Regions from separate parts of the Homo sapiens genome. Here region 2 is linked to region 1. The links are contacts of gene promoters, found by promoter capture Hi-C in blood cells and fetal thymus (Javierre and others, 2016). All regions are on one chromosome and are shown on one strand. Each heading gives the region's core, a stretch centred on a gene start or on the middle of the fragment in contact. The rest is flanking DNA. Distances are from core to core; before and after follow the strand shown.

Region 1 (5,198 bases), core at 1,656-4,155:
GAAGCTACTTCTGTTTATAAAAGTCTTCGAAAATTTGGCAAGGAATTTAAAACCATTCTTTTAAAAATCAATCCTATCAATATATGGGTTTCTAGAGTATATTTCCCATCAGAAATATTCAACTAGCTTAAAATACCAGTACACTGATGTTGAACATTTTAAGTATTTTATATTTCCCACAGCAAGGGCTTTTAATTATATGGCCAATCTTACTTTGGGATGAATTTCATCCTCAATTTCTGAACTTCTTGGCATAGCAAATGTGTGTGTATTGTGTGTGTGTGTGTGTGTGTGTGTGTGTGTGTATACATATATTCTTTTTTCAGTAACGTTACTGGAACAGGTTTATAAAAAGATAAACATTTGCTGGCATTTATTTTTTTTTCCTTTACTGCAAATGCATTATTTATTCCTAGTGCCAAAGAAGTTTTTAAATAAACAACTTGGGATGCACATTGGCACACACATCCTTTTAACCTCGTTTGTGGTGGAGTTAATTGTTTTTATTAAGCATCTATTCATACCGTGAATAAGTACATGAAAATTACTGTTGCAATTTTTAAATAACTGTGTCCTTTCCTGGAAGGCTAAAAGTGTTATTTTTTCGGACCAATGAAACGTATCAGAGAAATAAACAAAAGGCATAGTCTACTGTCATAAATCATACACAGTCAAGAACAACCTATGTCCATTAATGCAGAACAATTAAATGTGACAAAGACAAGTCAACACCCAAGAAATCTGCATTTTGTTCTCAGCTTTAAAAGTGTTGTCATCCTATTGCCTCCCTGCACATACACCCCAACACACACACCCCTTCAACCATAAATAAGAGCGCAGAGTCAGTATCTGTGCTTTATCTAGAACAGTTTACACCAGGGACAGGCGAAGTGTTGTGACTGTCTTCTAAGTCGCGGCTTGGTAAATTTCACTCAAGGGTTTCCTTCAAGATCTTCAAGATTCACCTTGCCTGGAATCCCCAGGTGTCCCCCAACCTTCCATCTGTGACTCTCTAGTTGACTGTTGAGGACGCATGCATACTTTCCGGGCAATCATTTAAATTACACACACACACACACACACACACACACACACACACACACACACACCAGAAAAGAACAAATTGACAAATTGATTATCCTAGGGAGAAAGTTTTCGTTTTCTTTTCTTTTCCCTCCAAGTTTTTTCTTTTTTCTTTTTCTCTCGTTTCACCTCCTCTCGAAGTCCACCCTAGTTCACCAATTTCTGCCAAGATCTCTTTCTGCCTGTGTCTTCACTTTCTTCACTGAAAGGCAGAAATGGGGAGTAGGCACCCAGTTCGCGGTGGGCAGGGTTCCAGGAGGCAGCTCCCGCTCGGCGATAGCCCCCGGGGCGCAACTCCCCGCAGGACGCGCACCTGCCAGGACAGCCACTAAGAGGATGCGGAGGTTGGGGGCCCTCTCGGGGACAAAATCAGGGCACTCCAAGGAACTCTCTGCGCGTTCAGGCCTGTCTGTGAAGCTGGCAGGCGGAGGACAATGGGAGCAGGGGTAGGTCTCCAGAGGCGAGCCCGCCTCCACCTTTCCCACCTGCTCCCCACCTCTGCGCCGGCCGCATTTACCCCGCCCCCCTTCCAGCGCCCGCTTGGCCCAGGTCACTAGACGGAGCTAGTGGGGATCGCCAGGGGAAGGAAGGTGCTGCCACAGGGAATTTTCTCGTGCAGAGGGGAGACCTGCAATCCCTGGCTTTCACAACGTCCCCCACCCACCCCATACCACACACGCTTAGTTTAACCAGCAGCGAGGAAGGAGGAGGAGCCGGAGAGCACACAGCCTGGAGATGCCAGGTCCTAGGAGATGTATCCACGGAAGAAGCTTTGCTCTCACACTGAAGCCCTCCCTGGGCTACTTTGGGGAGACAGTACCACCCCCTGCCGCCCAGGTGAAGTAAGCCCGAAAGCCTCAAGAAAACCCCTAGTCCCCGGCGTCCTTCTCTTGATAACCCTCTTTCCCCATTTGGGAAGCCTAAGTTTAGCCGAAAAGCAACTGCAATAAGTTTCCCAAGGGCAGATAGGTGATGTTGGGGGGAGAGGGTAGGGAGCACGAGAGTGCCAGAGAGGTCTTCAGCTGCGCACAAAATCAGCAAGCTAAAGTGCATCTTACTTACCAAGGATTTGGTCTCCGGGTTTCCCATCGGCGAACTGAAACTGGTCCGTGAAGAAGTGGCAAAGTAACATAACTCCTGCAGCGGCCAGGTCGGCCTTCGGGAACCTCGCCATGCCGCCGCCGCCACCTCCCTACCCCACCCGCCAGTCCTTCGCCGGTGCTCGGGGGCTCCCGATGCAATAGGCACGACCGGGCCAAACGCTGCGGATCGGTCTCGGTAGGACCCGGAGGCCTTTGTAAATGTCGCTGCGATTTCACAGTAGGGAACCGAGAAGAGGAAGAAGCGAACGCGAGTAGGAGCGCAGCGCTCTTCGGACCTCTGAGGCTCTCTTTGCAACTTGCCACACTCGCAGCCCTCACCCGACACTGAACAACAACCGCGGGGAGGAGAGGCCACTTGCAGCCGAGGCTCGCAAACTGTCGGTTCCACTCGGGCAGCGCCAACCCGGTGCCCGCGGACGGTGACTTCCGAGCCCCAGCGATGCGCTCCACTGGGTTCAAAACAGATCTAATTCCACAGCCAGCGCCGCTGCCTGCCCCAGATCCACTAGGGCTGGTCGGCTCTGCAGGAACTTTCCTCTGTCTAGGGATGGCCCCGGCAGGAGGTTTAGGTTTGCGGGAAGGAGGTTGATGACGAAACCCTCCCGACAAGTTTTGCTTCTTTTCTTCGCCCGACGCAGGGCGCGCGTCCTTTCTCGCAGCCGGAGGAATGGGCAGCTCCAAAGAGCTGAGCCCTGGGAAGGTTAGGGCTGCAGCAGTCTGAGGTCCGAAGCCAGGAAAAAAATGTGTTTAAAAAAAAAAAAAAAAAAGAGGAAGAAGAAAGGAAAAGGGTGGAGTGGGAGGGAGTCACGCTGGAACCTATCGGGAGAGGGTTCCTCCGGGCTCAGGAGGAGGTGGCCCCAAGCCCCCGCGGAGCCCCAGGAGTTTGGTGGCGGAGGAGGCGCTGCCGTCGCCACGCTCCCCCGCGCTCCTTCTCCACACTTTGAGGAGGGAAGGCAGCTCGCAATTTGCCAGATCTGCCGCCGCACCCTCCTCCCTCCTCCCTCCGCCCTCCCCTTCGCTCCTCCAGGCTTCTCCCACCTTCCTCCCTGAAACCGGCAGCCCGCACAGACCTGTCCAATGGCTGCACTTTCCTCGGGGCTGGCTGAGGAGTCGCGGCCAACAGATTAAGCCGGGGGAGCCTAGCGAAGGGGAGGGAGAGGGCCACTCCAGCCCCGTGCGCCCCAGGCAGCCGGCTGCCCCAGAGCGCGGGGAGAGGGGACAGGCCGGGGAGCTATCGGGGGAGCGCGGGGCGGTACCTCCGCGCCGCCGGGGCGCCATCCTCGCAGCCTGCTCGCACGCCCTGGGCAGCTCCGCCAACTGCGCCCCACACCCACCTGGCTCCCGGGCCGCCTTCGCGCCCGACTGCGGGGGGCGATCGCGCCCCGCCCCGACCCTGGCGGGGTCTCCCTGGGCACGAAAGGGTTAACCACAGCTCGCCCCTTCGCGGAGGCTGGTTCTGGTAGTGGCTAGGGAGTGGAGAAAGCAAACCAGAGCCGGTTCGGTTACCGACTCTGCGAAGCCCCCTCGACCCCAGCCCAGCGCGGGAGGGTGGCGGAAGGTGGTGCACCGCAGCGTGGTCCCCGCCGCTGCCGCCGCGGCTTTGCAAAGTGTCAGCGGGGGCGAAAGCGAGAGTTTAAAGGAACAGGAGGCCCATTGAATTTCCTACCGGAGCTTTCAGGGGCTCTGGCTCCCCAGTTTGTTTTTGTTTTTTCAGCTCGGGGATCTGTTTCCGCGTTAACCCTTGCCGGCCCTCTCGTTAGTTGATATCTTATTTTGCATACAGTTAATCATTTTTGAAAGGGATAAATACAAGGAAAAGAAGCAAAGCGCTATTGGTTAAAAGTACAGGATCTAGAGCCCGGACAGCCTGGGCTGGAATTTCACCTCCCCCGCAATGAGCAGTTTATCTCCTAGCCTCAGTTATCCATCCATCAAATGGAGAGAATTAGAGTAACGCCCTTATAAGGTGGTTGCAATGGATTGGATGAGTTAACTGTATATTTAATAAATATAGAACATTGCCTACCGCAAAGTACATGGCTTTGTTTAAGTGTTTACTGAAGCAAAAGTGAGAGAAGACGACTTCAATCACATAATAAATGTGCATGTGTTCTAAGTTCAAGGTCCTTTCCACTCCAAGCTCTGAAGAGTCTATGGATGCTGTCAATAGATGTCTCGGCTTGCCACAAAACCCACTGGAAGTGGATCCGGATAATCAATCTACCTTTGCAAATGTGATGCTCAAAGGACGGCTCTCTCATGGGAAACAAGAAAGGTTTCCCTTAATCCAATACTCAATTTGCTCTTTATTTCCAAACAACAGATATACACGTATAAACACAAACATATATCATGCCTATACTCTTTATTATGCCAGGACCCTGGCTCTTTCCTGAGCTTTCCTCCCATAGGTTGATTTCTACTTAGGTAACTGGGTTTTTCTATTTCTGCTTAACTAGGAGTGTTTAAGTTCTATGTAATATTACATCCGAATTTGAGTACCCGGATATATACCTGCTTAAAATCAAGTTTGAAAACTGAGTCTTCTCATCAAAACCTGATTGTGCGGTTGACCCTTGAACAACAGGGGTTTGAACTGCGAGGATCCGCTTTTGCATGGATTTTCTTCCTCCTCTGCCACCCCTAACAGAGCAAGACTAACCCCTCCTCTTCCTCCGCTTCAGCCCACTCAATGTGAAGACGATGAGGATGAAAGCCTTTCTGATGATCCACTTCCACTTAATAAACAGTAAGTATATTTATCTTCCTTATGATTTTCTTAACATTTTCTTTTCTCTAGCTTACTTTATTTTAAGAATACAGTATGTAATATGTAGAACATACCAAATATGTGTTAATCAACTGTTTTTATATTATCAGTAATGCTTCTAATCAACAGTAGGGTATTAGCAGTTAAGTTTATGAGGAGTCGAAATTATACATTAATTTTCTACTGTGTGGGGGTCCGTCCCCCTGACCCCCATACTGTTCAAGGGTCAACTATAGTTTAAT
Region 2 (4,874 bases), core at 1,292-3,791, 3.2 Mb before region 1:
ATGCGTCAAAACATTTGTAAATGACTACACCTTAATAGGGGACAAAGTCAAACACAAGCATCTGTTAAACACACGTTTAGCAGTAGAATATTATCTCTAAAAGCAGCATGTTGAAATGATTTTCAGATCGGAATCTTTTAAAAATGTTTTGGAAATATTATCTTAGATACACTGGAGAGTGTTCCAAATTAAATTAACGTACGTTTCATTAAACTACAGAACCATCCTTCCATTACCTTTTTTGCCCCTCCCCCAACGTCCTCCTAATCGGCCACTAGGGGTCAGTATGAAGACGCAGTTCCTTGCATTGTTAGAAAATGGAACTCTCCGAAAATGAAAAACCCTATGCAACAAAGACAATAGCTGTACAACCTTAGCAATATTAAATGCAACCTATACATCAAGTCTACAACACGAACTTGCATTTTTCATGGGACTACGTTTTAATTTTGTAAATCACTGTGGATTATCTCTATGGTCAATGCTTCTTTAGTAAAAAGTATTCTCAATGACAGGATTACTTATGTAAGTGGGTCTGTGTAACTGGCCAAGAAGTGTGTTCTAAGAATAGGGTGTTAACATTTATTTTTCAAAGGGTGATGGGACACATGTCTAGCCATTTCATCTCTTCCTGTACAGGGATGGAGAAGGAAAAGTGGAACTTGTGGTTTGTATTTTGCTAACTTTAAGAGATTTTTCCCCCCTTCAAAATGACCATCATCATTCACTGCACTCAGCCTTCATTCCACTATGAAATATAGGCAATTCTAAGGAGAAACCATTAGCCTAAAATCAATAGAATAAAAGAAATGGTAACAATAAATACACAATACATTATCTTCCCACCAACTTTACTGAATGGGAGAGAAATTTTTCAAAAGGTTTGAAAAGTGCTTTCTATTTCTGCTGGAGAAACTTAACATTCCAGGAAATCATTAAGATCATGCCCCTCCCTGACAATACTGAAATGATTGATAAAGGACTTTGGTCACTGTGAGTAAATGCAGCACTGATTTTTGTTGAAGCACTAGATGAAGTATTGACTTTTCTTGAAACACTGTGTGAAGTTCTGTATGTGGCATACGTTCTAAAGTTTTCTCTACAAATTGCATGGCATTCTCAGGCATGATACTCCATGAATAATTCTAATAAGTATTAAAATTAGTCAATGCTTTATTTCTATATTAGCGAAAAGAATGTTTAATACTGATAATACAAAATGACAAGTTATCCATATATAACGAGGACATTCTAAGCTTCCCAAAGCACTCAAATGCACATCCATATAATTTGGGGGCATTCTATCTGTTTGTGGAGTCCCTTTGGAGTGTACTGCTTACAATTTCATCATTCCCTTGTGCGGTCCTGACCATAGGGAACACAACAGCAAGACAGTTTCTGGGGAAGAGCTTTTTGTCTCTGGTATTGTAGAAGCTGGCAATGGGCCAGTAATCAATCAATTAATTTTTCAGTCACCACTATATGTGCTAACATTTAGAACTTTCTTGGGTCACTGCTGTCATGGAAAGTCAAAAGGGGTACAAAAAATAAAAAATAAAAAGCAAAGAAATGGTAATAAAAGGGTCTCTAAGATTTAGGTAAATCACTCAGTTCTTCATGGGGATGACATGGAATAATTATGAAGAATCAGAGTTAGTGTGATCTATGTGTAAACAAGGGACTTATGATCATGCATTTACTGTAACAAAACTTCAGTTCTCACTTCTCTATAGTTATTAAAATAATTGTAGTTATTACTGTGTATATTTTTATTTTGTTCATTGCATTTTATTTCCTAAGATAATTGCATCTTTTGAAAACTGTCTAGCCAACATTTATACTAATCTTTATTAGTTCTGAACATTTATTCTAATCTTTTCATAGTTTACCAGTGGCCAAATTTAGTTAGCATTGCCAAAGGGAAGTGAAAAACACTGAACCCTTTTTCTTCTTGGAACAACTTAAACTCTAATTCTGATCAGATCCAACAGATGGCAGTGATGTTATAAAGTAATAGTTTAAAACATTCTTTTAATGTGTAGGGTCTGCTCCTCAGAGAATAAGTCTCTCAGTACTTGCATAAATAATATGGAACTTTGATATGATTAATTGGATAGAAGCATACAGGATAAATGTAACATGAAATTTAGCTGAAAACAATATTTCCTATGTCAAAAATAAACGGTTTTCTCGTTTTCAAAAGGCATTACAAATTGTTAACTGTAAAAGAGATTAGCAGTATACCAAGAAAAGATATGTGTCCAAACAACTACATTTTTCTATAAAATTCATTATTGCTTCTTGGTTTCCATTTTTATTTGTTCCTTTCTACAGGCATTGTTTTAGCCTTCACACCTTTTATTTATTCACTTAAAAATAGTTTTACTTTGCTTTCTCCTTCTTTCACTGCTAATAAGTGAATCTGGCTGTTCTTGTCCCCTTTTACTATGCCTTTATAAAAATAGTTATTTTTATTCTTATTCATTGCCTTTTCATATTTGTACCCACTTTAAGTTATCTTTATTCTGTAGATAATAATTAGAAGTATCAATAGGAGGCTCTTATAGGGAAGCCTCCACTGTTGCTTCTGTTTTCCAAGTTATATAAAAACAAAGAAAACAACACTGATGATTGCTTTCTGTTTTAAGTAATGGCCATTATTGATTGTTTGACAACAGACTTTGTTTGTCAAATAGACTTTGTTTTCATCACTTTTCTTTTACTTTTGGGTTTTTTGTTTTGTTTTGTTTTGTTTTGGGTTTGTTTTTTTTTTTTTTGTTTTTTTTTTTGAGATGGAGTCTCACTCTGTTGCCCAAGCTGGAGTGAAGTGGCGCGATCTTGGCTCACTGCAACCTCTGCCTACAGGGTTCAAGCAATTCTCATGCCTCAGCCTCCCATGTAGCTGGGATTACAGATATGCACCACCATTCCTGGCTAATTTTTGTATTTTTAGTAGAGATGGGGTTTTGCCATGTTGGCCATGCTGGTCTCGAACCCCTGACCTCAAGTAATCCACCCGCCTTGGCCTCCCAAAGTGCTGGGATTACAGATGTGAACCACCTTTGCCCGGCCATTTTTTGGTTGTATTTTTGATGTAAGCCTATTTTCCTTCGAATGCCTACTATGGGATGGACAGTGTTCTAGATGCTTGGGATGCATCAGTGAATTAAATAGATGAAGGCTGCTCCCTTCATGGATGCTAGTGGTTGGTGTGTGGCGCGGGGGGGGGGCGTGCAGTGCAGGGGTGTGGGGGTGCAGAAAATAAATGATGATAAGTGTACCAGGTGAGTTACATGCTATGTTAGAAAATGATAAGGGTATGTGAAAAGGGCAGCAGGGAAGGAGCGTTGAAAATATGCATGTGTGGAGTGCAATCTTAAGCCGTGTGGTAATGCTAAGTAGCTTCGCCAAGGTGACATTGTAACAGAGATGTAAACGGGGTGAGGGAGAGAACCACAGCCTGCATGGGAAGAGGTTTTCCAGGCAAGAGGGTGTCACTACAATGACCTAAGGCAAAATACTCCCGGAAGCGGAATTTACTTCCAGGATATATTTTATGTCTATTTTACTCTACAACATTAGCCCATTTGTAAGTAAAAGGATTCATGTTTGTTAATAATTTTTAACTACCATCCATATCCACGTATCCATAACTCAAATACCTGGAAATTTCACATAACCACAACATACACGAGAATTATCTGTGGGGGTAGGGAATGGCCTCTGAGAAGCAAAAATTATGTACATACCAAAGAGGCATCAGGCCCTCCTGTATGGCTTTTGTGTACAATTTGATAAAGCTGGGTTACCTGGAATCCAAGCTTTTCATGGACAGAAAGGAAGGATTTGAAAGGAACTCTGACAGGGAGGAAGTTAGAGCTCTGCCAATCAGATCCACTGATAGCAGTGAAAATGAAAAACTGACAGCTCTCAGAAGCTTGATAAGGAATCAACAAAATGCATCGAAGGTCAAAGGAGCTGCCCCCCTGAATTTATACCCAGTGAGTGGGACAAGTAGCCCCCCTTCCCCAAGGGGCACTGAGAACACCTCCGAGGGTCACATGGCAGTCATTTAGTCAAAATGGCAACCATAACTTTCCCCACCAAAGTTTAATAACAGCATAATCAGTTCAAAAGGCTGAGAGGGAGCTCACTGCAGAGGCTCAAACCTGTAATCCCAGCACTTTGGGAGGCCAAGGTAGGAGGATTGCTTGAGCTCAGGAGTTTGAGAGACCAGCCTGGGCAACATGGTAAGACCCCATCTCTAAAAAAAAAAAAAAAAAAAAAAAAAAAATGAAAAATTAACTGGGTGGGATGGTGCATGCCTGTAATCTCAGCTACCTGAAAGGCTGAGGCAGGAGGATCGCTTGAGCTCAGGAGGTTTAGGCTGCAGTGAGCTACGATTGTACCATTGCACTTCAGCCTGGGCAATAAAGTGACACCCTGTCTAAAAAAAAAACAGAAGGTTGAGAAGGAAAGATTTTAGAAGATTTTAATTCAAATTTATCGCAAATTTTTAAAAGTTTTTTTGGATTAAAAAAGTAAATTTTTAAAAATCCACTAAACTTGAGTATCTAAGAAACCTCATTCATGAATACCAAATGGGTAAGATCTTTTGGCATCAATTAAGGTGATGATCAGATTACTTCAATAAAGTTGAAAATCTTCTACATAGGGCTATGAATGGTCTGATTATTTATTTATGATTGCTACTAAAATTGCTCATCATCATACTATTTTATTATATTTGAGTGTGTTTTTTTGTTATGAGAAAGCAAGATGTGTGAAAATCTGAAATCAGATACATTAGACTATAAATTAATTTACATAAAGATTATAAAATTCTATTTTTAGATTACAAAAAGATTTTAATT

The links. Contacts are between HindIII fragments. The CHiCAGO score rates a contact against its expected background, and 5 or more counts as called.
Region 2: a contact is called between a fragment that was not itself captured here and the fragment with the promoter of PLXDC2 in region 1, in 2 of 17 cell types (total B cells and naive B cells). The highest score is 10.3, in total B cells.

Annotation. Positions count from the first base shown.
Region 1 is chr10:19,814,139-19,819,336 of GRCh38, reverse strand. It overlaps PLXDC2 (plexin domain containing 2), which reads right to left and starts at 2,905. Exons shown (of 14, transcript NM_032812.9): 1 at 2,146-2,905. The coding sequence starts at 2,257. It overlaps LOC124902388 (a long non-coding RNA gene), which reads left to right and starts at 3,109. Exons shown (of 2, transcript XR_007062078.1): 1 at 3,109-4,935. RefSeq lists an enhancer at 3,216-3,981. The HindIII fragment of the contact is 8,470 bases long and covers 1,856-5,198 here.
Region 2 is chr10:22,984,467-22,989,340 of GRCh38, reverse strand. All of the region lies in intron 10 of ARMC3 (armadillo repeat containing 3), which reads right to left. Among named protein-coding and RNA genes, the nearest start is that of ARMC3, 59 kb to the right of the region's middle. The HindIII fragment of the contact is 2,565 bases long and covers 1,259-3,823 here.